Linked DNA regions of Homo sapiens: all the other regions are linked to region 6. The links are contacts of gene promoters, found by promoter capture Hi-C in blood cells and fetal thymus (Javierre and others, 2016). All regions are on one chromosome and are shown on one strand. The core of a region is centred on a gene start or on the middle of the fragment in contact, and the rest is flanking DNA. Distances in the headings are between cores, read along the strand shown.

Region 1 (3,419 bases), core at 45-2,544, 360 kb after region 6:
TCTCCGGAGGAAAAACTACTGCTCAGGTGAGCCTCCGTTGACTTGTCACTTTGAGCCACGTGGAAACTCTGAAAGTCAATCATCAATGCCCAGAAACAAGATGCCATGTTTTCTCTTTCCTTTTCCTTGACTTCCTAGGGCAGGGGTCAGCAAAATTTTCTGTAAGGGGCCAAACAGTATTTAGGCTTTGCACCCTGCAGTCTCTGTCATAACTCTTCCGCAGGGCCACTGTGGTGTGAAATCCTCCCCAAACGATACAGAAATGAATGGGTGTGGCTGGGTGCCAACAAAACTTCACTGATGAACAGGGAAATCTGGGAAAATGTCATCTAATTTTCATGTGTCAGAAAATATTATTCTTCTTTTGAGTTTTTTCCACCAATGAACAAAAATGGGCAGTGGGCCAGATTTGGCCCTTGGGCTAGAGTTTGCCAACCCTTGCCCTAGAGAACTGCCCCAGGTCTTCTCGGGGTCAGTAGTACAAGCTCCAAACATAGCTACATGCCCACAGTCTTCCCTGGGGAGGAGGGAATCGCAGGCAAATGTCAATACATTAAAGCCATTAGAATTTGATCAGGCTGTACAGAGAAACACTGGTTCTTTGTTCCTCCAGTTGCCCCAAGAAGACGGAAAAAAATTCTATGTTGTGTTTTTCTTTAATTTATGACTTCATTTTTCATTTCCACCAAAAAGGAGGTAAACTGTGAAATGCACGCAAGTTGCCCTTGGTGCACAATGACATAGCAACACTTCGGAGAAGTAAAAACAGCCATAAAACTCGTAAAATTATGCCCATGCCGGGCAAGATTAAATTCTCCCTATGGCGGCAGACGGGCTCATCGAGGCCCATGGCTCCGGGACCGCGCGGTGAAAAGCCTACCATGGAATCCATTAAAAGTCTGCTTTTATGGGGGGCAGTATTATTTAATTGGTTTATTTGTCTAATACAAGGCCTTTAAAATGCTTTGACCGTGTGGGGCCTGAACCTTGGGTTCTTTGCCCACAGCCATCAGCCCTGCCCGTGACTTCACTGGGTGCCATGGGAACCGGCCTTGGCTCCCCAGACCACAAAAGCTAAAGGGGCCTTGTGTGCCTTTTATGGGAATGATAACAACCCCACCGTTTCTGGAGTGCTCGCTATGCAACAGGCAGTCGGTGCAGTGTGATCCTTCCCACGGTAAAGGAAGTACCTGCATTTTACAGATAACCCCTCCGCGCCTCCCTTAGCTGCAGGCACTTGGCCATGGTCAAGGTCATGTGAGTGGAAAGGAGCCAAGCTGAGCCTCGAGACTGACAGGTGCTGCCCAACCTGTGAGGTGAGGGTCACCTCCCAACTCAGCTAGGCCAGCTGGCCACGAGGATACAGACCACTGAGTCAAGGCCCACCCCACCCACCAGGGTGGGAGGCTTGGGCCAGCACTTTATCTCTCCCCAAGAGGAAAGAAGGAGCCAGACGACTCAGGAGGGGCCCAGTGATCTGTGGAAGGATGAGAAGGAGAGTCAAGAAAAGATAAAGTTCCCCAAATCCTCCGTGTCATGTTCCAAAAACTAGAGTTTCTCAACGTGTGCCCTACTCACTTTCCCCATGATATTGCTTGTTAAAAAAGCAGATTTCTGGGCACATTCTTGGGCTTCATCCCAGAGTTGTTGAATCAGAAGGAGGGGGAGATGGAAGTTAAGGCCCAGGAATCTGCATTTTAATAAGACTTCCCCACCATGGGGAAGAGAGACACAAATTATACTCTTTATGCTTTCTGATTCTTGAGCATCCAATTACAGAATAAACAATTTCCACACAACCTGGCTCCATCTACCTCAGAAGACACTGTAGCATCTACAATAAGAGCTGTAGAACATCTCCTACTGCTGATGCTGTGCGAAGGTTCGGACCCTCCCTAGAAGCTGAGCTCCACTGTACCCTCTCAGGTTTAGACCACTGGGGGCTTTTGGTTTCCAGGGGCCACAAATGACTTCTGGGCTAGTCATATGTAAATGGTAACAATGAGGACCTACTCTGTTGCCTGGGATGCAAAGGAAGGACCAGCAATTATGCACATGAGTATATTCACCTCACATGTATCTTACAAGTGGCATTAGGGAAGTTTGAGTAACCAAGGCCCAGATGGTGGCAGCTAACTTTTAGAGGGCACCAATGCTTCGCCAAGCAGTTCACATATTTAATCCCCACAACAGTCCCATGGTGCGGGTACTACTACCATTCTCACTTTACTGATGAGAATACTGAGGCATGGCAGGGTTAGGTAACTTGCCCAGGTCTCATGACTAGAAAGAGGTGGAGACAGAATTCTGCCTTAGACAGCCCATGGTCTCAGCTGCCACACTGGGTCACCTCTTCACTGACAGGTAAGTCAAACATCTCCCTAGTCTCCTCCTGGCCTGAGACCTGGTTGGCTGGCCACTTCCAGGACAAGTCCAAAATACAACAGGATTCATCAAAATGCTGTGATGGCAAACTATTAATTAATGGTTTCATTACACTCATTCATTCGACAAGTTTTTATCAAGCACCTACGATGTGCAGGGCAACTCGCCAGGCACTGGGTTTGGGGATAGAGCCTCTCTCTAACCTATTCATTTGTTGCTGTGGTGCTTGGCACGTAGTAGGTACTCAAAAGGTTTATGAATGATAGAAGATTTAACACTTCCTTTAAGAGCATCAGAGAGGTTTGGTTCTTGCTATATAAGGAGAAAACTGCCAGTAGCATTAGGCTATGGTTATTTTTTTTTCCTTTGAAAAATGAAAGGTCTGATGATCAAAAGCCCCGCAAAAGAAATCCCTGAGGCCCTGAGGACATTTAACGGCAGGCTTCTGCTGTCCACCCCGCCCACTGGGAGTTTTATTTAGCCACAACACTTGTTTTCTCCTCTCTAAACTCAAATCAATGGGATTAAAGATTTTTTTTTAAAGAATCTAATTAGCTCAATTTACAGTATGATTTCTTGGACCCAGGAACAGTTCTATATCTCCCACGATACATAAATGAAGCTAAAATTAAACTCAAGCCGCTCGTGTTTGTTTCATTGTAATGAAGAGCACGTTGTTTTCAAGTGGACACTCCATTCCCAGTCTGCTAACTGAGAGCAGCCCACGGAGAGCTGGCTCAGGACAAAGGAATGAAGCCCACCTGGTTCTCTGGGCGACTCCCTGTGACCCCTCTCAGTGCTGCTGGAATGCAGGGGAGATGCTGGATTGTTAATTCAGGTCTGAAGACATAGAACTGAAATACTGTGGGACCCTGAGTAGGAACTTGCCTCTCACGCATGTCCTAAAACCAAAGACATTCAGAATTCCAAGGGATTCGAGTATAGGCCAATCCCCTCGATTTACAGAAGAAACTCGGAGACCTTACATGCTTGCCTGAACTGCCCAGTGTAGCTAGCAGCAGAACCAGGGACGG
Region 2 (3,486 bases), core at 386-2,885, 500 kb after region 6:
TGGGCCCTGGAGCTTGGCACTCTGAGATACCCCTGGCTGTCTGGCCCTGCCCACTGCAACCAAGGCCTGCCTGCCGGAATGCAAGCCAGGTCCATTTTTAAATTCCTTTATAAGTTTCACAACCGCAGGTTTGGGTGAGGAGACAAACACCGCTGTAGTTTGCTGACATTAAACTAAAAATACCCAGCTGCAAACAAAAGCCATCTTTAACAGGGCTGGCTCGGACGTCCTGAGGTTACATGTGGTAGAGTCGGACCATATCCTTGGCAGTGTGGCTGCCTTAACAACTGCTCCAGACCGAGTGGGGCAAAGGGGCCGTCTGTCCCTGCGCTGTCAAGGAATCTGCAGCCTGCAGCCCTGCCTGTTTGATGGAAAGAACAGCTTTATTCCTCTGCCATCGACCCAAACGCAGGCTTGATGAATTCGGGACTGCGTCTGTTTAAAGTGTTAGATACACAGTGAAAGGAGAAGGCGGGAGGCAAAAATGAAAAACACCAACCCCACTTCCCTGGAAGGAAATGCGTTTCCACCTCCCTCCTCCTTGCAATTAGAAAAGCAAATTATTGCTGTGACTACGCTGAGAAAGGCAACTCGGAGGCGTAGAAAATGGATTTCTGAGCCAACGTGGCCCGGCAGGGGGCTGCTAAGGGAGGGTAAAAGGGAGCAGGGGAGCCACGGCTTGGCGGGGAGACCCGCGTTACCCGGAAGGCTTCTCGGAACGTTCTACCTGTTGGGCTTCGCAGCCGAGCTGCTCACCCCCGGCCGCCGCGCTCGAGGGCGCCCCTCCCTCTCCAGAACCCAAACTTTCCCTCGCACCCCTAGGAAGCGACGAGCCTCGTCCCTCCCCCAGTCCAGATTTCGGACGTGGAACTTTGCCTGAGCCACAAGGGACCGGAGGAATGGGGTTCATTCCCACGCCGCCCGGGGGATTCCCGTTGCTCGGATCCCAGAAGTGGGGGATGCAAACGGACGGTCAGCCCAGGACCTGGCCAAAGTTTCCTCCAAAACTGCAGTGGTCAAGGCGTGACCCAGGAGCTCGGAGTTTCCAGCTCAGGGCTGGGGGCTGGAGCAGGCCCCGGGGCACCAGCCGCAAGGTCACTGCGGAGCCGGACCCCGGGGGCAAACGGCCGGCGCGTGGTGGAGGGGCAACGCTGGGCACCCGACCACTCTCCACACCTGCTCAGCTCTGCGCGGAGCCCGGGACACGTGGGAGCCCAGTCCCGGGCTCCCAGCCTGCTGCAGGGACTCGCAACCTCGCCGGGGCGTACACCCTTCGCCCCCGGCCCGGCAACCAGGAAGAGGCGGCTCGCCCGGGCGCAGAGCAGCCGGCTCCGGGTAACTCTTTCATCCTCCGACCTCGGCAGCAGCAGGGAGGGAGTTTCGTTCTCCTCAAACCAGCCCCTCACCCCCGGTTGCTTCCCACACCTCTCCGTTTCCCTGCTACCTCGCAGACAGACAGACAAGGGACACAAAGAAAAAAAGAAGAAGAAAAAAAAAAAAAAAAAAACTACCGCCCCTCCTGGTCCCATCCTCCAGCCCGGAGCCGGTAGGAAGAAGAGGGCGAAGCACACCTTCCCTTCTCCTCCCCATCCCGACGCGGTGACCCGGGTAGATCTGGGCAGCCAGGAGCTCTGGGCAGCCAGGAGCCCCGAAGAGGCCGAAGGCGGAGAGGTAGGGTTGGAAGAGGCAGAAATCAGGCGGAGCGAGCTAGAGCGCGAGAGAGAAGAAAATATCCAACAAAACCACGCTAACGCGCCCCCTACCTGGGTGCAACATACTTTGGAAATAGAAGATGACCAGGATAAAGGATCCCAAGCAAGTGGCCAGCACCATCCGGCAGATTCTGTTCATCCTCATCACTTCCAGCAGCGCTGGCTTCATGGCTTTGTCCTGGCTGCGGGGACCGGGGTGTCCGGGAAGCGCGCCCGGGGCGCAGGAGCAGGGACCCCGCCGCGCGGACCGGAGCCCGGGAGGCGCGGGGCAGAGCTGAGCAAGGCTCAGAGGGAGGATCGGAGTCGCTTCGCGGCCGCTCTCGGAGCCCCCAGCCCGGGCAGGGGTGTGGAAGGTGCCGGAGTTGGTCTGGAAGTGCTGAGATGCGTGGACCCGCTGGCTGCGCGCTCCTGCTCCTCCTCCTCGCCGCTCCGCCGCCTCCTCCGATCCCGCCGGCGGCCGCCGCTGCCTGGTCGCGGGCCGGGCGGCTGGGGTGCGAGCGGTGATGGTGGTGCCGCCGCCGCTGCCGCTGCGCTGGCCGCTGTGGCTGTCCGACGGGCCCTCTCCCTTCTCTCCAAAGGCTACTTCATTGCGCTCCAACGATCTATATATTCCGGGGCTGGGTTTTACCAAATGCAACTCGCGGCCCCCGGCGAGGGGAGGGCGCCTGCGGAGAGCCGGGAGGAGGGAGGGACCCTAGCGCCGGGGCGGAGCGTCGCGCTCCCCCCGCCCCTACCCGGGATATGGTCGCGTCCAGCTGTTGCCCGGGGAGTGCGGTGTGCGCGCCGCGCTCCCGCAGGGTCCCAAAAGCCCTCAGTCCCCGGCCGGGCTCGGCCGCCGTCTGGAGGTTGTGTCAGCGTTTCCATGACAAAACCCGGAGGAAAAAAAGACGAAGAAAATCGCCTCGGTGCTGCCACCCACCCCCGCCAGCGTTTGGAGAGGGAAGTGGCAAGCAGCGGGCTGGGTCTCGGAGGGAAGAATTAAGGGTTAGGGGGTTTCTGGTGGCTGGCAATTATTTAAAATCCCTGGGCGACGTAGCGGGGAAGTTGCCCCAAACCCCCAGGGAGCGAGTGCCCATTTTCCGACGCTCAGAACTGGGCGGTTTCGTTTTTCTTTCAAAGGACAGCCCAGCTTGGGAGTCGGGGTTAAAGAGGGCTGACTTAAAGTCAGGGTTAAGGAAACTGCACGACCCTCGGGTCAGGCGACAGCTGAGCTTTCCCGGGGACTTATACAGACAGAATCTCTGACACCCACCATCACCACCATTCCTCAAGGCAAAAGGGATCTGTGGGTTGCAAAACTCTGCTACCCCAAAGGGTAGAGCATCCTCCAAATTATTCAAAATTAACAGCAGTCTTAGCTGGGAGGGGGTGAGAAAATGCCCCTAGGAAGCCACCTCAACCAAGTCCAGAAAACTGCTGGAAAAGCCAAGCCAGCCATAGCACTGGCAGGTACATGGAAAGATGGTGCTGCTTTCTTGTATTGTGTAGAATGACTTCCAGTTTCCAATTCCATGCATTTAGGCTGTTTCACAATCAATAAAGTGGACACAGCCAATAGTGTAGGGATCACTCGTATGTCAGGGAAAAAAAAAATGTTAGTTAGACTAACCTTTGTGCCTTATCAAGTCATTACTAATTCAATTAAAAATGAAATAAGATACTGTGTCTTTCAATGCCTCTCACAAAATAGGCATTTGATAAATTCTTATTGAATCTGAATGTAATGGGCCTTATCCTCCCCTCGATAGACAGAGACACAACTTGCAGTTAGACA
Region 3 (3,298 bases), core at 563-3,062, 310 kb after region 6:
GAAATAATGGTTTAATCACCACTACGATGAAGGTGAACTCCAGGGTTCCATGAGAAATCAGTTTAGGGAGGTTAGGGAAAGGTACCCTGAGAAAGCAACATTTAAGACAAGGTCTGAAGACTAAGTAGGTGTTGGCCAAGTGAAGTGGAGGTGAGAGGAGGAACACTGCCAGCAAAGGCCACCAAGAGGTTGCAGCAAGAGAGAAAAGGAGGAGGAGAAAGTGGGGTGGAAGCGAGGCATGGAAGGAGGGCAGACTAACGGGATGCGGGGAGTGGATCTCGCAGGGCCCTGGAAAGTGGAATAGAGGATATGAAATGCAACTTCTCCCCTGTAGGGGAAGCCAGCATGGGAGCCATTACCTGGGTCCATTCACCAGGGAGGCACTGGCTGAGCCGGCAGCATCCTGCATGCGGGACTCAGAAAGAAATCAGGGGAGGGGCTAGTGTGAGCAAAGCGCTGGAGAGTATGGTGCCATCACCAAGGTCCCCAAAGAACATGTTTGCTGAAGCCACCATGATGACGAGCTTGATCATGACAGGCAGAGCTGGTGAGGGTGGAAGAAGAGATGATGGCCCCACTGGGAGCCACACCCTAATTTGTAGGTAGATGGATACCCTTTAGGATAAAGAGTGGTGCTCTGTCAACTCATCTTATTTGGTGCTGTTGTTTTTTCTTGTTTGAGGTTTGTTTATCCTTTCATTTCCTAGTTTAATTTCCTTTTAATAAAGCTCTAATCTTGTCTTGGCTCACCTAATGGGAAAAGGGATTAGTCCACAGCTAAGCCAAGGGGAGGGTGGGGGGGAAGGACTTGGAGCCCTTGGAGGCCAGGACCAGCAGGGGAAGGTGAGTGGGTGGGAAGGGCCCCCCAGAGCCCAGGCAGACAAACAGCAAACTCAGAAGGGGCCAAAATAAAGACAACTGCGGTGCCCACCCCCACCTGCAGGTTGCTTTTCCAACAAGCCCAGCTGGGCTTCCAACACAAATATTTCTTGCAAAGCAGAATAGGAGGCCTGAGCTCCAGTCCTGGCCCAGCCCCCTGGCTCTCTGTTGGGTCAGTTCTTTAACTTCCTGAGCCTCAGTTTCCTCACCTGTATGGTGGGGATGAGAATCACAGATTCCACCTCAGAGGATTATTGCCAAGTACCTGGCTCAGAGTGGGTGCCCTCCAACCATGGGAACTATTATTATTAATTTAAAAGTGGAAGGCCGGGCGTGGTGGCTCACGCCTGTAATCCCAGCACTTTGGGAGGCCGAGGTGGGCAGATCACGAGGTCAGGAGATCGAGACCATCCTGGCTAACATGGTGAAACCCCGTCTCTACTAAAAATACAAAAAATTAGCCGGGCGTGGTGGCGGGTGCCTGTAGTCCCAGCTACTTGGGAGGCTGAGGCAGGAGAATGGCGTGAATCTGGGAGGAAGAGCTTGCAGTGAGCCATCATGCCACTGTACTCCAGCCTGGATGACAGTGCAAGACTCTGTCTCAAAAAACAAAACAAAACAAAAAAAGTGGAAGAAGGCTCGCTGCAGTGATCTGTCCTCAGGTTTCATGCAGATAAGCCATGGGCCTGTTCCAGCACAGGGCTGGTCTCTACAGCAAATCCTACCAGCTCTGCTCCTGCACTATCTTCCAGACTGAAGCCTCTAAGGGGTCTCATCCCAACCCTACTTTCAAGGGACAGATCTGAGATGGAGGTCCAGCCAGTCTTCCCCTACCTACACTGGTCAGTCTGCCACCGGGCTCTGAGACAGAACCACCCCAGCTGCACTCTGCCTGCCAGGGCCAGGGCCAGGACTCAGCCAGAGACTCCAAACCTGACCCTCTTCATCGCCTCCCCAGTGCTGCTTCAAGGATTTGAAAACCAGAAGCAGGAAAGCTCCCCTAGAAAGAGGGCATGCTGGCTTGGCAGGATGCCCAGGCAGCACCACGCCAGCTGCAGGGAGCCCAGGTGTGTCTTTTTGGCAGATGCAAGCAGGGCCACTCTGCCTTTGAAGAAAGAGGATTGGCCACACGTTAGACACTGAAGGCAGGAAACAGAATCTGGCCTCAGTGAGGGCTGGAACCAAGGAGAAACCACTTACAAGATGGCTGAGGAAAGACATCAGTAGGGAGGCCACCGAGTGGAATCATAAGCGGTGGAGAGTCAAAAGGCAACCTGAGACGAAATGCAGCAAGTGCATGCGGGAGTCCACCCAGATGCAGGGAAGGTAGGGGGTGTCCAGGAGCTTCCATGGACAGATATCCAGGAGGTGCACGCTGGGAGGGTGGCTGCGGCAGAGATTTCCCAGCAGCCTCTGAGCAGCAATAAGCACAGTGAGGAGGAAGCAGAAGTCCCTCTCTTCAGAGGAAGCAGTTCTCCATCCCGTGAGCCAATCCACAACTGGCCGGACAGCTCCTTGCAGAAACCGTCCAAGAAAAGCAGTCTCCACTAGCAGATAGCAAAGGCAGAGAGACCTAAGAGGTTCCTTTGTTTGCTAACTGCACCCCTAAACTCCAGAGGAAATAAGAAAATTCAAATTGCTTCCTCTTGGTACCAGAGGAATCAGGTTTGACAAGTCTCTTTATGAGATGACAGCTGAGAAATGTTCTAGAGAGGTCCCTTCTTACCCTGGGTTAAAACAGTGAAGTCTTGGCTTTCCAGGAGCTGGAAAACACGCTCATGAGACCCAGACCAGATTCTCAGGCACAACTGATGTTTCCATCCCTGATCTAGAATAAGCCATTCCAGGCAAAGGAATTTTCCAGATAGGAAAAACTCCTCAAGTGCAACAACAAAAAAAAGTCATGAGAACTTTGTGTGTGTGTGTGTGTGTGTGAAGAAAAAGTCTCTGAATGTCCTCTTAAGTTCCTCAAATGGAAATCCCCTAAATGTGCTGGAGTTCTTGAAAAGAGCATATTGGAAGAAATCTGTTACTGATAATCCCACACAAACACGCTACCCACTACAGTGGCACACTGCCCCTACCATGGTACAGAGGGAAAGACTTGGACTTTGAAAACACAGGGTAGAACCCCATCTCTGCATCTGACGTATCTAACCCTCCAAACTTCTGCTTCCTCATCTCTAAAATGGGTGGTGAGGAGCAACAACAAGGTTTGCGGTTTTTTGTTTTGCTTTGTTTTAAGAGATAGGGTCTTGTTCTATTGCCTAGGCTGGAACACAGTGGCACAATCATAGCTCACTACAGCCTCAAATTTTTGGGCTCAAGCTATCCTCCCGCCTCAGCCTCCCACAAGTAGCTGGGACTACAGGCATGTGCCGTCATGCCCAGCTAATTTTTTAATTTTTTTGTAGAGACA
Region 4 (3,439 bases), core at 513-3,012, 380 kb after region 6:
AAAAGCAGGTGTCAGAATCGATCTGAAAATGAATAGGGGAGGCCCCAGACAGGGGCAGAGGGTGCACACGTGAGCTTTGGGGGAGGCTAGGCTGTGTGTCAAGTGTGGTTGTTGAAATATGGTCAGAGGGAAAAGGCCATTGGAGCTGCATCTGATGAAACACGCCCACGGTCCCCCAATCTCCCTCACTCCCTGCTTCCCTTCTTGTGAATCCAAGATGCAAAGCTGAGCCCCATTCCATAGACCCTCCAAAGATATGGAATGGGATCAGAATGATCCCAAGGAGGGGAAAAAGAATCAAAGCCACTGTAGTGGTTTCTCCCCAGGGAAATCCAGGGAAACACTCACAATTTTAAGGAGGGTTTCATCTTAAAGTAAAGATAAAAAAGTGTTATGACAAAATGGAGAGACAAGGTCCCATCTTTATCCAGAAAGTAAGAAAACCATGTACAAGATTTCTGTTGCCTTGATAAGCAGGAAGGCATGGCCCCAGTATACAACACATATGTATGTGGCCGCACTTAGATATTAAAATTCCCTCCAAGTTGGCCAGGCAGGTCTATTTGTGCAGGCAAATTAAAAAGCTGTAAGACAATAAGGTGTCTGCAAATGGTTACAGCTACAAGAGGATATGAAGCTATTTGCATGTCTGTCTCTAGGGGAAGCAGCCAGATGTGTTAGAAACAGTTCCAGTTCAGAGCTTGCGGCCACCTGTGAGCTGGGTGACTTGGGGAGAAGGAAAACAGGTACAAGCAGAAGACATTTGGAGTTCCGGCTCTATACAATGCTGAATGCCAGGCAGGCACTTCAGTGGAAGTCATTTTATATAACCCTCCCTTCCTCACTACCATCCCGAGATGTATTATTTCTATCATACAGATGAGGAAACAAGTGCAGAGAGGTTCTTGCCAACGGTACACAGTTAATAAATGACAGATCCTCTAGGATGATACAGCAGGGAAATGTTTATTATCTCTGAGTGTTCCCAACAGTGATTGGCCCCATGAGAAGGGCGTGCAGAGGGGACGTGAAATGCACAGAAAGAACTTAAACTCCAGTTGCATCCCTTAGTAAAGATAATAACATGAAAACAGGGGCCTGGGGTTTAAGTAACTCAGTAAAGGTGATGGGGCAGGGGCAACATATCTGTCTGACACATCTGGTCAAAATGCTGACATCAAAGTCTTCAAGCACAAACACACGCACACACACATGACTACCCCAACGCTGATTTCATTGCTCAGGAGCAGAGCACTGTAGCCAAGGGTAGGCTCTAAGGGTGTTAGAATTCCTGCCTCAAATCCTGGCCCCTCCACTGGCCAGCAGAGTGATCTTCTGCAAGCTTCTTAACCCCCTGCATCTCAGTTTGCTCACCAATAAGATGGAAATAATGAGAGAACCTGCCTGATAAAGTTATTAAGAGGAGGACATGAGCGGAAAGCACTGAGTGCATTGGCTGCCACAACTCTCAGGCGCACATTTCCATATTTCAATTTCTCGCAAATAAGGATGCATCCTACAACCATAGTCTTCTTAGACTGGATGAAATAAGGATAGAATGATGATGCTGACGATAATGACGTAGTGCATCCCTTACTTCCTTTCCACCTCCCTCCGTCCCATCCCCATCCCCATCTCAAAGCCCAAACTCCTGGATGGAGTGTTTGTTCTCAACTTCTCTTCCTTTTTCTTTTAGTTTGCTACAAGTTGAATGCTTTGTTTTCCAAGCCAAGACAAATCTCCTCAAATTCAAATGGCAAAGTGCCACAGCATCAAAATGCCCTGTGCCTTCTGAGGCTTGCTAAGATGCAGGGAGGCAGCTCCAGGGTAACAGGCCCTTTGAGACCACCTGTGCCCGAGCCACTCCTCACACAGCCAAGGTCACTGCCCTGGATGTCATGAACAGCTGGGGAAGTCTCTGTCAGGTTAGACAGAGGTAGTGGGTCTTCAGCAGTACCCAGAAAGACCCTCCCCACCCTCCTGCCCACCAAATAACTGCCTCAGCCCTCACTGAGGCCAGAAATCCCAGGCAGTGTTCCTTTAAATCAACGGTTTCCAGTCACTCGACAATGTTTGGCCACTACATCAAATCATAACCAGCTTTCTCAAAGTCTGAAAAACTACAAGAAGTTGTGGTTCAAATAAATAAATAGGGATAAATTTTCCTCAATTATCAAGCTTTCTCCCATAAAACTTTGTTAAACAGTTGACACAGCTGTGCTTGAATCATAAACACAGATATACATATATAAACATAGATAGTACTAATATCTCAACAAATATTAGTATGTCATGAAGACTTCCAGATATCTGCCACCTGGCCAAGCTTGAGGTTGTTCCCCCAGCAGAAGCTAATGCAAGTCAACACCCTGAAGCTAATGAAGGCCAACACCCTTGGGATCAGAGTCCAAAGTCCTCAAGGATAAGGATGCAAGAAGCATCCATTTATCAGAGGTTCTACTCAGAAAAGGCTGATGGGAGAAGTAGCTCCTGCATGTCCAAGGTCAGGAGTTCAGGGACAGAAATCAGGACAGAACAGGAGGGCCAGAAAAACACCAGAAAAGGCAGAAAAGGCACTCAGATTTTTGCCTTTCACTTTGTCCTGATCTCAATAAACATCAATATTCAAGGCTTCACTTGCTTTTCACGATGAGTGTATTGGAACTGAAAGTTCTGAGACAATTATAAGAAATATGAAAACCCAGGCTAGGTGCAGTGGCTCATGCTTTTAATCCCAGCACTTTGGGAAGCCAAGGCAGGAGGATTGCTTGAGGCCAGGAGTTCAAGACCAGCCTGGACTTGAAACCCCGTCTCTACAAAAAAAGAAAACAAGAAATATGAAAATTCCCCTTCCTTCCAACTGAAGTATGGAGCCTCAGAAGACTGAGCACCCATTTCTTGACAAAATCCTCCTGGCCCAGCTATATCCTAGAAGTAAATTACAACAAGTAGAGAGAAAAAATTGGGCTCCCAAACTTCCAGGAAGCTTTGCATGGGGCACAATCCTAGCTGTTATAGAGGTTGAAAGTTAAGTTACATATTTTTCTACCATTCTCTGATTGTGTCTGACATACTGAATATTCATTTATTTTGCCTTTAATTTATCCATAATCGACATGTCTACCATGCATGAGGGCTTAAAGCTCCACTGAAATAAATTACATCCCATGGTATTTAGAAACAGGCAGCCTAACATCTAATCTAATTGACCTAATTAACCCTTTTCTTAAATGCCCATGCTTTACTATATCAGCCAGAGCATACAGTGAACGCTTTTGGCTTTATTGTGGCTGAACAATATTAGAAACTTTAGTCAAATCCAGAACCCAATCTTTAGTTTCAATTTCCTTTCGTACTCCAGCTCAAGCCTGAAATCTTCCTTCTTGTAAACAAAAACCACAAAAGATATTCTATCCCCCATTCCCCAAATGTAGGGGGA
Region 5 (3,702 bases), core at 170-2,669, 460 kb after region 6:
GCCTTTCTCTTCGGCCTGCAGACGGCCACCATCTTGCCGTGTCCTCCCATGAGGCCTTTCCTCTGTGCGTGCACAACCGTGGTGCCTCCGTGCATCCAAATTTTCTCTTCTTACAAGAATACCAGGCAGATTGGATTAGGGCCCATCCTAATGACCTCATAATCATTTATTTGTCTCTCTTAAGACCCCATATCCACATGTAGTGACATTTTGAGGTACTGGGGGTTAGGTCTTCAACATATGAACTTTAGGGGAACAAAATTAAGCCTGCAGCAAACAAAAATGACAATATCTGTCCTTTGAGGTATAGCACCTGTTAAGTGAACGTCTTATGACAGAAACCAGGGGCTTGATATCCAGGAGAGGTCCCAGGAGGCAGGTATTCTCATCCACAAGTCAGAGGTGAGAGTAGCAAGTACCACACTGTTGCAAGAGGGGCTAAATTATCCACAATCATAACTGCAGAGGTAGGCCTGAGCCCATGAGGGAGTCAAGCAGGCCCCTCTTCCCCACCTCCAGTGGAAAGTTTTTCTGGATGGCAAATTCTTGTGGATTTCTCAGTTCCACGATCCTCAAAACACACCATACATAAAACATCCTACAAACTCTCTAGGATTTTGTTGCAGGAAACAACATCTCATATTTTCTTTGTCTTGTTTAAAAAAAAAAAAAGTTTTGAGGATTAGTCTATGACTTGAGCTCTTGACAGAGACTTCATTTCATAGCACCAAAATAAGAAAAATGTTCACAAAACATATCAAAGAGTGAAGAGAGGCCCTGCAGACTTAATTGGCCCTGTTAGAATGGCCCTGTGCCATTATTTACTGATAGGATTACCAGATGTGAGTGTGGAATTGGTCCCCCAACTTAAAATAACATAACGGATTTTTTTCTAATGTAATTTGAAGCATTTGTTAATACAATAATCCAACACAAACATTACAGCTGATTTGGGGAATTGTGGCCAGCAGTCACTTCAACAGTGCCTAAAGGCCTCTGGCCCATTATTAGGTCTAGTCAAAAAACAAAATTAAATATGATAAAGATTAACAAAAATTAAACCAACTGTGTCACATTGATTTTTTATTTGACAGGCATTATAGCACATGTATGGCTTTCCAGAAAATCTGGTGGCTCTAAGAGTGAACCTTCTAATGCAACAATAACTCATCAACACACCTTCCTCCCCACTGCCACACACACACACAGATTTGGAATAGAAACCAAACTCAAAGTGGAATAGTGTCAAGAAAAAAATGTTGTGCCTCTCTCCTCACATTTTCTATTATTCATTTAACAAGGGAATTCAAACCAAAAAAGTACAGAGTATTTTACAAGCCCAGGGCTTAGGAGACTAGGCCACTATTTCTAAAGCCCTCGCTTAAGTCTGCTATCCGAGGCATCAGTGATGACTGAGGCATGGGCCTTATTCCAAGTTTTCATTCCTGGGCACTTCAAGGAACTCCATTCAGGAGTCAGGATGTCATTATCTTCTATAACTTTCTTGATATGGGTCAGCTGAAGATGTGAATTTTAAAGAGCATAGTCAATTAGGAAAAGAAAGCCAGAGAACACCCTAGTAGCCAGACGGTTGGGTTCAAATCCAGGCACAGGCTTCAGTTCGTTGTGTGACCTTGTATGAGTTCCTTACATTCTCCAAGCCTCAATTTCCTCATCTATAAAATGGGTAAAAATGGAACCTCTTCCTCACAGAGATGTAATGAGAATTAAGTCATGCAAGATGCTTAGAACACTTAATAAGCACTCAATAAATAGTAGTTATCAATTTTTATTAGTACTAATTTATGTATTGGTTACCTGAAGTATAAATAATAAAACTACACTGTTTAACCATAATAAGATATTCCTTTACACCTACTAGGACTGTGACTATCAAAAAAAAATAAAATTAGAAAGTAACAAGTGTTGGCAAGGATGTGGGGAAACTGGAACCCTTGTGTACTGTTGGTAGGAATATAAAATGGCACGACCACTGTGGAAAAGAGTGTGGTGGGCCCTCAAAAAATTTAAAATAGAATTACCACAAAACCTGGCAATCCCACTTCTTTCAATTCTTTCAAAAGAATTGAAAGCAGGATTCCGGAGAGATATTTACACACCTATGTTCACAGCAGCAGTATCCACAACAGCCAAGACACAGGAACAACCCAGATGCCCATCAACTGAAGAACAGATAAACAAAATGTGGTGTACACATACAATGAATTATTCAGCCTTAAAAAGGAAGGAATCCTGTCACATGCTACAACATGGACGAACTCTGAGGACATTAAGCTAAGCAAAATAACCCAGTCCCAAAAACAGAAATACTGTATGACTCCACGCATCTGAAGTGTCTCAAGTTATCAAACTCATAGAAACAGAAAGTAGAACGGTGGTTACTGGAAGCTCAGGGGGTCTGAGAAAATGGGGAGTTGTTGTTTGCTTAGTGGGTACAGCATGTCAGTTTCGCAAAACAAAAAAGTTCTGGAGATCTGTTGCACAACAGTATGAATATACTTACCACTGCTGACCCGTACTCTTAAAAAGGATTAAAATGGTAAAGTTTACATTGTGCTTTTTTAACCACAATTTTACATTTTTAAAATTATTTTTAAAAATCTACCCACAAAACAAAACACCCTGAATTGTTTAAGTGTTTTACAAAATGAACTCTAGATGCCTCCGAGTCAATCAGTGAGCCCGCACCCCACCCCACAGTTATTATTCTGAATTCGTGGTGACTTACAGAGCTAATACGCCTACGACATTGTTCTGAGAAGCGCTGGAACCCATCCTCGGCAGTCAGCTGCTAGCAAGAGGATCAAGATCAGAGAAGTTTTGTGAAGTTAACTTTAAAAGGAATATTCTGACTTAGAACGGATTCTATTTTAATGCTTTGAGACAAAAATCCTTCCCCTGGGAAACTGCCTCCAACTCACTTGTCACATCCTCAGAAGTGGAGACCCTGTTTTTCATTTCTGAGATGTTATCACTGAGACATTCAAATAAGAGCAGTGTTGAAGAACAGTGACATGTGATGTGGTGGCTTTAAGGCAGTGACGGGCTATAGACACTAAGAGGCCAAGGCCAGAGGGGTCAGCTCACAAGCTCACAAGCTCCTGCCTTTGCTTCGTGGTGCAGGCTCTGTCTCTCATCGGCACGGCATCTCTTCAGAGGGGATCTCCTTGGAGATTTGGGGAAATCAGCTCAATTTTGTCACCCAGCCTGTAGTCCCAAGTCCTCGTGACTGTGGATGGGCCAGGAATGTGGCTTCACATACAGACATCTTGTTAGGCCAGGCACGGTGGCTCACACTATAATCCCAACACTTTGGGAGGCCAAGGCAGAAGGCTTGCTTGAGCCCGGAAATTCAAGACCAGCCTGGACAATACAGTGAGATCTCAAAAGATTACCCAGGCATGGTGGTGTGTGTGTTTAGTCCCAGCTACTTGGGAGGCTGGGGTGGGAAGATCACTTGAGCCCAAGAGATGGAGGCTGCAGTGAGCCAAGATGGTGCCACTGCACTTCAGCCTGGGTGACAGAGCAAGACCCAGTCTCAAAAAACAAAACCGAACACCCTGCTGCTGCACATGTGATACCACAGGCAGCATCACACCCACTGATGAAATGTGTCCGAAGGGACGGCCCTCCACAAACTGTAAATGTGTCTTTCTACATCCAAGTCTCTCTTGTCTTTCC
Region 6 (3,552 bases), core at 611-3,110:
TTGCTTCACATTTGAAGTTGCCAGCTGTCAGACGGGAGATGAAGTAGAAATGGGATTGTTGTTGTCTGCACCCATTAGGACCCAGTTTTTTACAAGGGGGCATTTCCTCGCCCGATTCCAATGTGAGTTATTTTCAGGGCTGAAATTTGATTTAAATTTGGATTCCAACTTGAAGCTTAACATATCTCCAAAGTACACACTACTTTGCGGTACTGAATGAAGAATGTAAGTAGAAGGTTGCCTGCCACATGCCATGTAATGCTCTGAAGGACGGTAGAAACCACCAGCTCTCTCAGAAAAAAATGGTGGAAGAATTTTCAAAACCAAGACAGGCTGGCTTCTGTATATGCTTTGTGTAGAAATCTTGAAAGACTACACACTCAGGGGAGGAACACATATTGGGTGGAACTTCTGCCAAACTTTCAAGAGCAGCTACTTTCTAATGATCTGTAATTCAAAAAACAACCAGAACAAAAACCAGCTGGAAATGCAGTCAAAACACTGCTTTTCCATATTCCTTGCAATTATACTTTCATTTTTAGGTGGTGAGGAACACCAGGATGAGTCATTATAAAAAGCATGACTGCAGATGGCCAAGAGTGATACCGAAGCACCCTTCACCCTGAAGGTTAAGGTTAAAGCTCAAAGTCTGATCGCAAAGCATAAGGAAAAAAAAAAAGAACATGGATAAATGTATGCTGGTGTCCTTCAGCACCAGAAAAGCTGCTACTAAATCACTGGTGTGGCTTGGAATTGGTAGAAGCTTTGATTTGAGGAAAAGAGTATCATTAGCTGTGTAATTTTGAGTTGTTGTTTTAGAGACAAGGTCTCATTTTGTGGCCCAGACTGGAGTGCAGTGATGCGATCATAGCCCGCTGCAGCCTTGAACTCCTGGGCTCAGGCGATCCTCCCACCTCAGTCTCCTAGCCACTCCAGGTCTCGCTGTGTTTGCCCAGGCTGGTCTCAAATTCCTGGCCTCAAGCGATCCTCTCGCCTGGTCCTCCCGAAGTGTTGAGGTTACACGCATGAGCCACCAATCCTGGCATTATGGCATTAGCTGTGTAATTTTTAAAATAACTGTCTTCGGACCAACACCTTTCTTTTGTTCACTGGAGTATCCCTGGGGTGTGTCTCATTCCCTGAATCATACACAGTAGATGCTCAATAGTTTTGTAAATAAAATAAATGAGCTCTCGGATTTACATGCAGACTTTGGATCAGTTTGATCTAGGTTTAAAAGCAAGTGTGGGGAAACTTGAAAAGCCTGGCACCCCAGCCAACTCTTCAGCGCCCCATGCGCTTGGCGCCTACACCTGCCTGGCACGGGGAGGGTGCTATGGGGCTGCCCTAAACCTCACCCCCTCCTGCGGTGGTTCCTGCCCGTCTCGGCTCCTGCACCGCCCACACTATGCGCTGCTGGGCCGAAAGACACGTGGTTCGGTTTTAACTCCAGTCTGCAAGAAACATGACCTCAGCCAAAAAGAGGCCGCTGGTCTGAGAAGAGAAATCATGAGTCATGGATTCGGGGGTTCGGACCTTGGAGCAGGCGGTGAAGTGGGCGTGCGTGGGCTGGTGGGGAAGAGGGATGCCGAAGGAGGCCACAGCCCTTCTCTCCTGGGCAGGCTCCCCAGAAAACTGCCCCCTTGCCGTCATCCAGCGCCCCCGTTCCCGACAGCTGTCTGCCAGGGCGCGGCCGGGGTCCGGGCGGGGCGGTGCTGTCGCTCCGGGTCGCCGCCCCGCGGGCCACATCACCAAGGCCCGGGCTTCCCCGGCGGCGGCGCGGCTGCGCTTGCGCGGGGCTGCCGCGCGGGGGCGGGGCGGCGGGGAGTCAGGGGGCCGCGGGCGCCGACGGCCGGGCTGTCAGCTTGGGGCCGCAGCCGCGCGAGGAGGCGCGGGAGCAGGAAGGAGCTGTGGGCTGGGAGCCGCTGTCCTCCCCGCCACCACCGGTGCCGGGCACCAGGTGAATGCCCCTTCCATCCCCCGCCCCTGGTGTCTCGGTCTGGTCTGAGGAGACGGGGACCCTTCTCACACCGGCCGCTGCCGCCGCCGCGCTCCGGAACAGGTGACCATGGAGGGGAAGTCTCGGCTTCGGCCGCGGCGCCGCGTTCGGGCGCATCAGGTGCGGGAGGGAGGTGGGGCCGAGAGGCCTGGGCTCGGGACCCGGCGGCGGGGGCGCGGGGAGCAGAGGGAGCGGCCCCGCCCGAGCAGCCGTGCCCCCTGCGGACGCCTCTCCGGGCCGCCGGGCAGCGCCCGAGCCCAGGCCCCCGCGCCTGCCCCACCTCGGGCTGAGGGAAGCTGTTCCGCGGCCACCGCGGACAAGCGGTCCCGGGCGCCCAAGGCAGGGACAGGCGGCGGGTGGTGTATGAGTGATGGCTGAAGGTGAGCTGGGATGGAGATGCTGCGAGGCTGGCTCGGGCACACCCCAGATGCCTGTTCAGGGCTCCGCGAGTGCCCCGTCACCCTTTTCTTTCATTCTTCTCTTTATATACACGGAGCATATCTCAAATTTAAAAGCCCAAATGCTCATTTACAGAGAGAGATGACACATATCTATGTGTTACCGATATACATTGATGTGTATATTACGTATATATGTCATCTTTTTTTTGTAGTGACAATTTTTAAATTGAGATATACATCACATGCCATAAAACTCATTCTTCTAAAGTGTGGCTTTTAATATATTCACAGAGTTTTCCAAATATGACCACTATCCAGATCATCATCCCCAAAAGAAACCCTGTCTCTCTTAGTAATCACTCCTCATTTCCCCTTGACCCCACCCCACTAGCCACCACTAATCTACTTTCTGTTTATATGGGTTTGCCTGTTGTGGAAATCTCATATAAATGGAAGCGTACAATATGTGGCTTTTTGTGTCTGGCGTCGAAAGACATACTGTAATGTTTTCAAGTTTCACTCATGTAGTATGTATCAGTACTTTACTTTTTATAGCATATTAATATTGTTGTATCAGTGTACCACATTTGTTTATTCATCAGTTGATGTACATTTGGGTTGTTTCCAGTTTTTGGCCATTGTGTGTAATGCTGCTATGCACATTTGTTTACACGTTTTTGTGGACATGTGTTTTCAGTGCTCTTGGGTATATACCTAGGAGGGCAATTGCTCCGTGTTTCACTTTTTGAGGAACTGCCAAGCAAAGCAGCTGTACCATTTTACTTTCCCACTAAGCAGTGTATGAGGGTTCCGATTTCTTCACATCTTCCCCAAGGCTTGTTACTTTTTTACTGGTTATTTTTTATGATAGCCATCGTAGTGAGTGTGGAATGGTATCTCTTTGTGGTTTTGATTTGCATTTCTCTAATGATTGGGGATGCTGAGCATCTTTTCATGTGCTTATTGGCCATTCATATATTTTCTTTGGAGAAAATGTTCATATCTTTTACCCATATTTTAATTGGGTTGCTTGGCTTTTTATTTTTATTTATTTATTTATTTATTTATTTGGAGACTGACTCTCAGTCTGTCACCCAGGCTGGAGTGCAGTGGCACAATCTTGGCTCACTGCAACCTCCACCTCCGGGGTTC
Region 7 (3,193 bases), core at 231-2,730, 400 kb after region 6:
ATAGTCAAGGTAAACAAAAAAGTTTTTAAGCTGATGGATGATGTGACCTAGGAAATACAAAGATGAATGAGACAAAGATCCCCAAGCTTTCTTAGGAGCATACAGCCCCTTGAGCGAGAGTGAAAAAGGCTACTATGGAAGTGATCACAACGACTGCTTTGAGTGTTTCCCTCATGCTGGACACGGTCTAAGCACAGCAGACACCATCAGCTCAACAATGGCCGAGCACAGTGGCTCACACCTGTAATCCCAGCACTTAGGGAGGCCGAGGCAGGCGGATCACTTGAGGTCAGGAGTTCGAGACCAGCCTGGCCAACAGGCAAAACCATCTCTACTGAAAATACAAAAATTAGTCAGGCTTGGTAGTGAGCGCCTGTAATCCCAGCTACTCGGGAGGCTGAGACACGAGAATCACTTGAACCCGGGGGGACGGAGGTTGAGTGAGCCAAGATCATGCCACTGCACTCCAGCCTTGGCAACAGAGCAAGACTACATCTAAAACAAACAAACAAACAAACAACAACAACAAAAAAAACCACTTCACAACAACCCTCTATGAGGTGAGTTCTGTTACTACCATACCCATTTCACAGATGGGGAAACTGAGGCACCAAAATGGTAAGCCAACACAGTGGAGAATCAAGAATGCCCCTTTAACCCATTATGTGCTTTGAGAAGGTGCCAAGAGGCAGACAAATGTCCAGTCGTCATGAATTGCCACCTCTGTTGCCTATATGAGAATTCACAAAGTCCTGTCCCTCATGCTCAGGTAGGGCCCCCAAAGACTCAGCCCTAACTCAACGTAGCTACCGGACCCTGGGCAGGCCCGGCAGGCAGGCTTTCTGGTCCTCTGTGAGATAAGGATTGGATTAATAATGCCTAAGCCCCCTTGAGCTCTAAAATCTTGCAACTAAACCAGGATACGATCACCTTTCGTTGGATAATGATTTTGATATCATTGAGAAATGGGTGCTGAATTCTAAACACACTAAACCAACCAATTTGCCAACAGGACAAAGTGCAGTCACTTTAGCCTGAGGAGACTTTTGAGTTTTGCTCTGGGCCAGGGAAGGTTCTGGAAGGCTCAAGCAAAGGCTCTGACCACTATTACGGGCTCTGCGCTTTTTCCTACCAGAGTAACTCAGGTGCAGGGGGAAGATGGCCTCATCTTCTCTGTGTTTACAGAGCTGCAGGTGACCCTCAAAGGCAGTAGGAAGTCTAAATCCCTTCGAAATGGTAATTCCCAAATCATATCTGTCCACCTAGAGCTGGTTTTCCTAACCCTGCCCACTTGACCTCTGTGGGACCTAAGCCCTCTCCTACCAGCATGAGCAGGCTCCTCCGTGGTGACCCGTATTTCTGCGAATCAATTCCATTTCGGGTGGATGACAGTGCTGCTAGGAACAACACCAACCAGAGCACTAGTGTCCCCTCCATGTCAGTGGCATTTCTGGAAACGAGGCCCAGCCAGGAAGGTGGGGGCAGAAAAACTAGATATATCCAGAGCAGAAACACCAGATTGGAACCAGGAGACTGGGCAGTAGGAGCTATTGAGGGTATGAGCTCTGGAGTCCAGCATTCCCAAGTTCCAATCCCTCCTCTGACTTCCCTAAGCCTCAGTCTCCCTAATCCCAGCTACTCCGGAGGCTGAGGCAGGAGAATCGCTTGAATCCGGGAGGCAGAGGTTGCAGTGAGCCGAGATCACACCACTGCACTCCAGCCTGGCGACTGAGTGAGACTCTGTCTCAAAAAAAAAAAAAAAATGGACCTAATAATGGGACCTACGCAGTAAGACCGTTGTGAGGATTAACCAGAAATAGCACCTATGAAACCCTTAGCGCAGTGGCTGGCACCAAGCAAGCATTCAATGACAATAATAATACAGAAGATACAGGGCGTTGTTTTCCATTAGACTCCAGCAGAATCAAATCATTTCCAATTCAAGCTGTGGGTGAGCCCTGAATCATTCCACTTCAAAATTCAGAATTATCTTTTATTTTGCTGTGGCAGAGACTTCACTTGTTCCCCAAAACCTGGTCTTGCCTTCTTTCATAGTGTTAGAAACTGAGTCAGGCACGCTGGTACCTAGAATAAAGACCAGCTAAAAACCCCTTTGAACAAGAAGTACACCACATGGCCCAGTTCTGGCCAATGGGATTATGAAGACACCCTTTGTCACTGTTCCCCCTTTCCCTGCAAGGGATAAGAATGTAGTGGAGAGCCATCCTGGGCTACATGGATAAGGTCAACCCTCAGTGTGGGGGCAGAACAACAAGATGGGAGGGGTCTGGGCTTCTGATGCCATGGCGTCGCCACATCAGGCCATGTCAGGACTGTTTAGTGAGAGATGAACTCCCATCTTCTGAAAGCCATTGCTATCTGGTTGCCATGGAATAGCAGCCAGTCCTATAACCTAATACACTCATGTTTCTTCATCTGACACTCACAAATAGCACATGAGTTTGGTAAAATTATCTTACTCATCTCGCAGATGGGAAAAAGTACCATAAGGAAGTTAAGTGACTAGTCTAAGCCAAGCCCCTCTAAGTCACTGAGCTAGAATTTCAGCTCCAATTTGAGCACTCTTCTCCCAGGTTATGTGACACTTCTGTTGCAGACTCTGTCCCCGGAAGACATGGCTGACCACAGCAATGTCACAGCAGAATTCGATTCACAGCAAATCCAGTGAGCACCTTGGCATTCTGCTAATTCCAAGAGACCCAGAATGCGTGAAATGCAGCCCCCATACTCAAGGAGCTCACAGTCTAATAGAAGGGTTTATAATGGAGGATGTAGCAGCAACAGTTTGCAAAGGGTTTTCAGATTCACTATGGAAAAGCAGAACAAGGACATCACCTGCAGAAACTAAGCTTGTAGAGGTTAAATGACAAATCCAAGACCACTCCATAAGTGGAGGAACTGGAACTAGAAACCTTATCTTTCAAATTCAAGTCTTGTGCCTTTTCTGCTGCCCAATTATAAAGTACCATAAAGTACTAATGCTGCCTGCTGAGGTATGACCGTCTCTTCCCACCCCTATCTCAAGATGCTTCCCGGTGCTGATCCATGTTTTTGAGTTTGAATAGCACACATCAAATTCACCCCATCAAAGACTGAATTCCTAGAAGGTACCATGAACCCCCCCATGGCTCAACCAAACCTTCCCACTCCTCTGCCATGTTGAATTCTTAGA

Evidence for each region. The method cuts DNA at HindIII sites, captures the fragments that hold promoters and counts their contacts. A CHiCAGO score of 5 or more calls a contact.
Region 1: a contact is called between a fragment that was not itself captured here and the fragment with the promoter of SLC41A2 in region 6, in 1 of 17 cell types (total B cells). The highest score is 5.0, in total B cells.
Region 2: a fragment that was not itself captured here is called in contact with the fragment with the promoter of SLC41A2 in region 6 in 11 of 17 cell types (naive CD8 T cells, total CD4 T cells, naive CD4 T cells and 8 more); the score reaches 8.3 in naive CD8 T cells.
Region 3: a fragment that was not itself captured here is called in contact with the fragment with the promoter of SLC41A2 in region 6 in 2 of 17 cell types (naive B cells and total B cells); the score reaches 6.6 in naive B cells.
Region 4: a contact is called between a fragment that was not itself captured here and the fragment with the promoter of SLC41A2 in region 6, in 2 of 17 cell types (naive B cells and total B cells). The highest score is 7.0, in naive B cells.
Region 5: a fragment that was not itself captured here is called in contact with the fragment with the promoter of SLC41A2 in region 6 in 1 of 17 cell types (monocytes); the score reaches 5.5 in monocytes.
Region 7: a fragment that was not itself captured here is called in contact with the fragment with the promoter of SLC41A2 in region 6 in 2 of 17 cell types (monocytes and naive B cells); the score reaches 6.3 in monocytes.

What each region holds. Positions count from the first base shown.
Region 1 is chr12:104,596,807-104,600,225 of GRCh38, reverse strand. All of the region lies in intron 1 of CHST11 (carbohydrate sulfotransferase 11), which reads right to left. Among named protein-coding and RNA genes, the nearest start is that of MIR3922, 6.9 kb to the right of the region's middle. The HindIII fragment of the contact is 6,125 bases long and covers 1-3,419 here.
Region 2 is chr12:104,455,807-104,459,292 of GRCh38, reverse strand. CHST11 (carbohydrate sulfotransferase 11) reads right to left here and starts at 2,345. Exons shown (of 3, transcript NM_018413.6): 1 at 1,764-2,345. The coding sequence starts at 1,881. RefSeq lists silencers at 807-866, 1,027-1,166, 1,757-2,036, 2,077-2,246, 2,327-2,456 and enhancers at 1,557-1,606, 2,527-2,606, 2,627-2,676. The HindIII fragment of the contact is 4,131 bases long and covers 1-3,486 here.
Region 3 is chr12:104,643,153-104,646,450 of GRCh38, reverse strand. The region is part of intron 2 of CHST11 (carbohydrate sulfotransferase 11); the gene reads right to left. Among named protein-coding and RNA genes, the nearest start is that of MIR3922, 53 kb to the right of the region's middle. RefSeq lists enhancers at 2,238-2,287, 3,185-3,234. The HindIII fragment of the contact is 9,948 bases long and covers 1-3,298 here.
Region 4 is chr12:104,580,157-104,583,595 of GRCh38, reverse strand. The region is part of intron 1 of CHST11 (carbohydrate sulfotransferase 11); the gene reads right to left. Among named protein-coding and RNA genes, the nearest start is that of MIR3922, 9.8 kb to the left of the region's middle. RefSeq lists enhancers at 654-703, 3,372-3,439. The HindIII fragment of the contact is 836 bases long and covers 1,345-2,180 here.
Region 5 is chr12:104,493,701-104,497,402 of GRCh38, reverse strand. All of the region lies in intron 1 of CHST11 (carbohydrate sulfotransferase 11), which reads right to left. Among named protein-coding and RNA genes, the nearest start is that of CHST11, 39 kb to the right of the region's middle. RefSeq lists an enhancer at 3,126-3,315. The HindIII fragment of the contact is 4,726 bases long and covers 1-3,702 here.
Region 6 is chr12:104,956,598-104,960,149 of GRCh38, reverse strand. It overlaps SLC41A2 (solute carrier family 41 member 2), which reads left to right and starts at 1,860. Exons shown (of 11, transcript NM_001352171.3): 1 at 1,860-2,062. RefSeq lists silencers at 1,682-1,951, 2,142-2,471. The HindIII fragment of the contact is 5,296 bases long and covers 766-3,552 here.
Region 7 is chr12:104,560,364-104,563,556 of GRCh38, reverse strand. All of the region lies in intron 1 of CHST11 (carbohydrate sulfotransferase 11), which reads right to left. Among named protein-coding and RNA genes, the nearest start is that of MIR3922, 30 kb to the left of the region's middle. The HindIII fragment of the contact is 2,784 bases long and covers 89-2,872 here.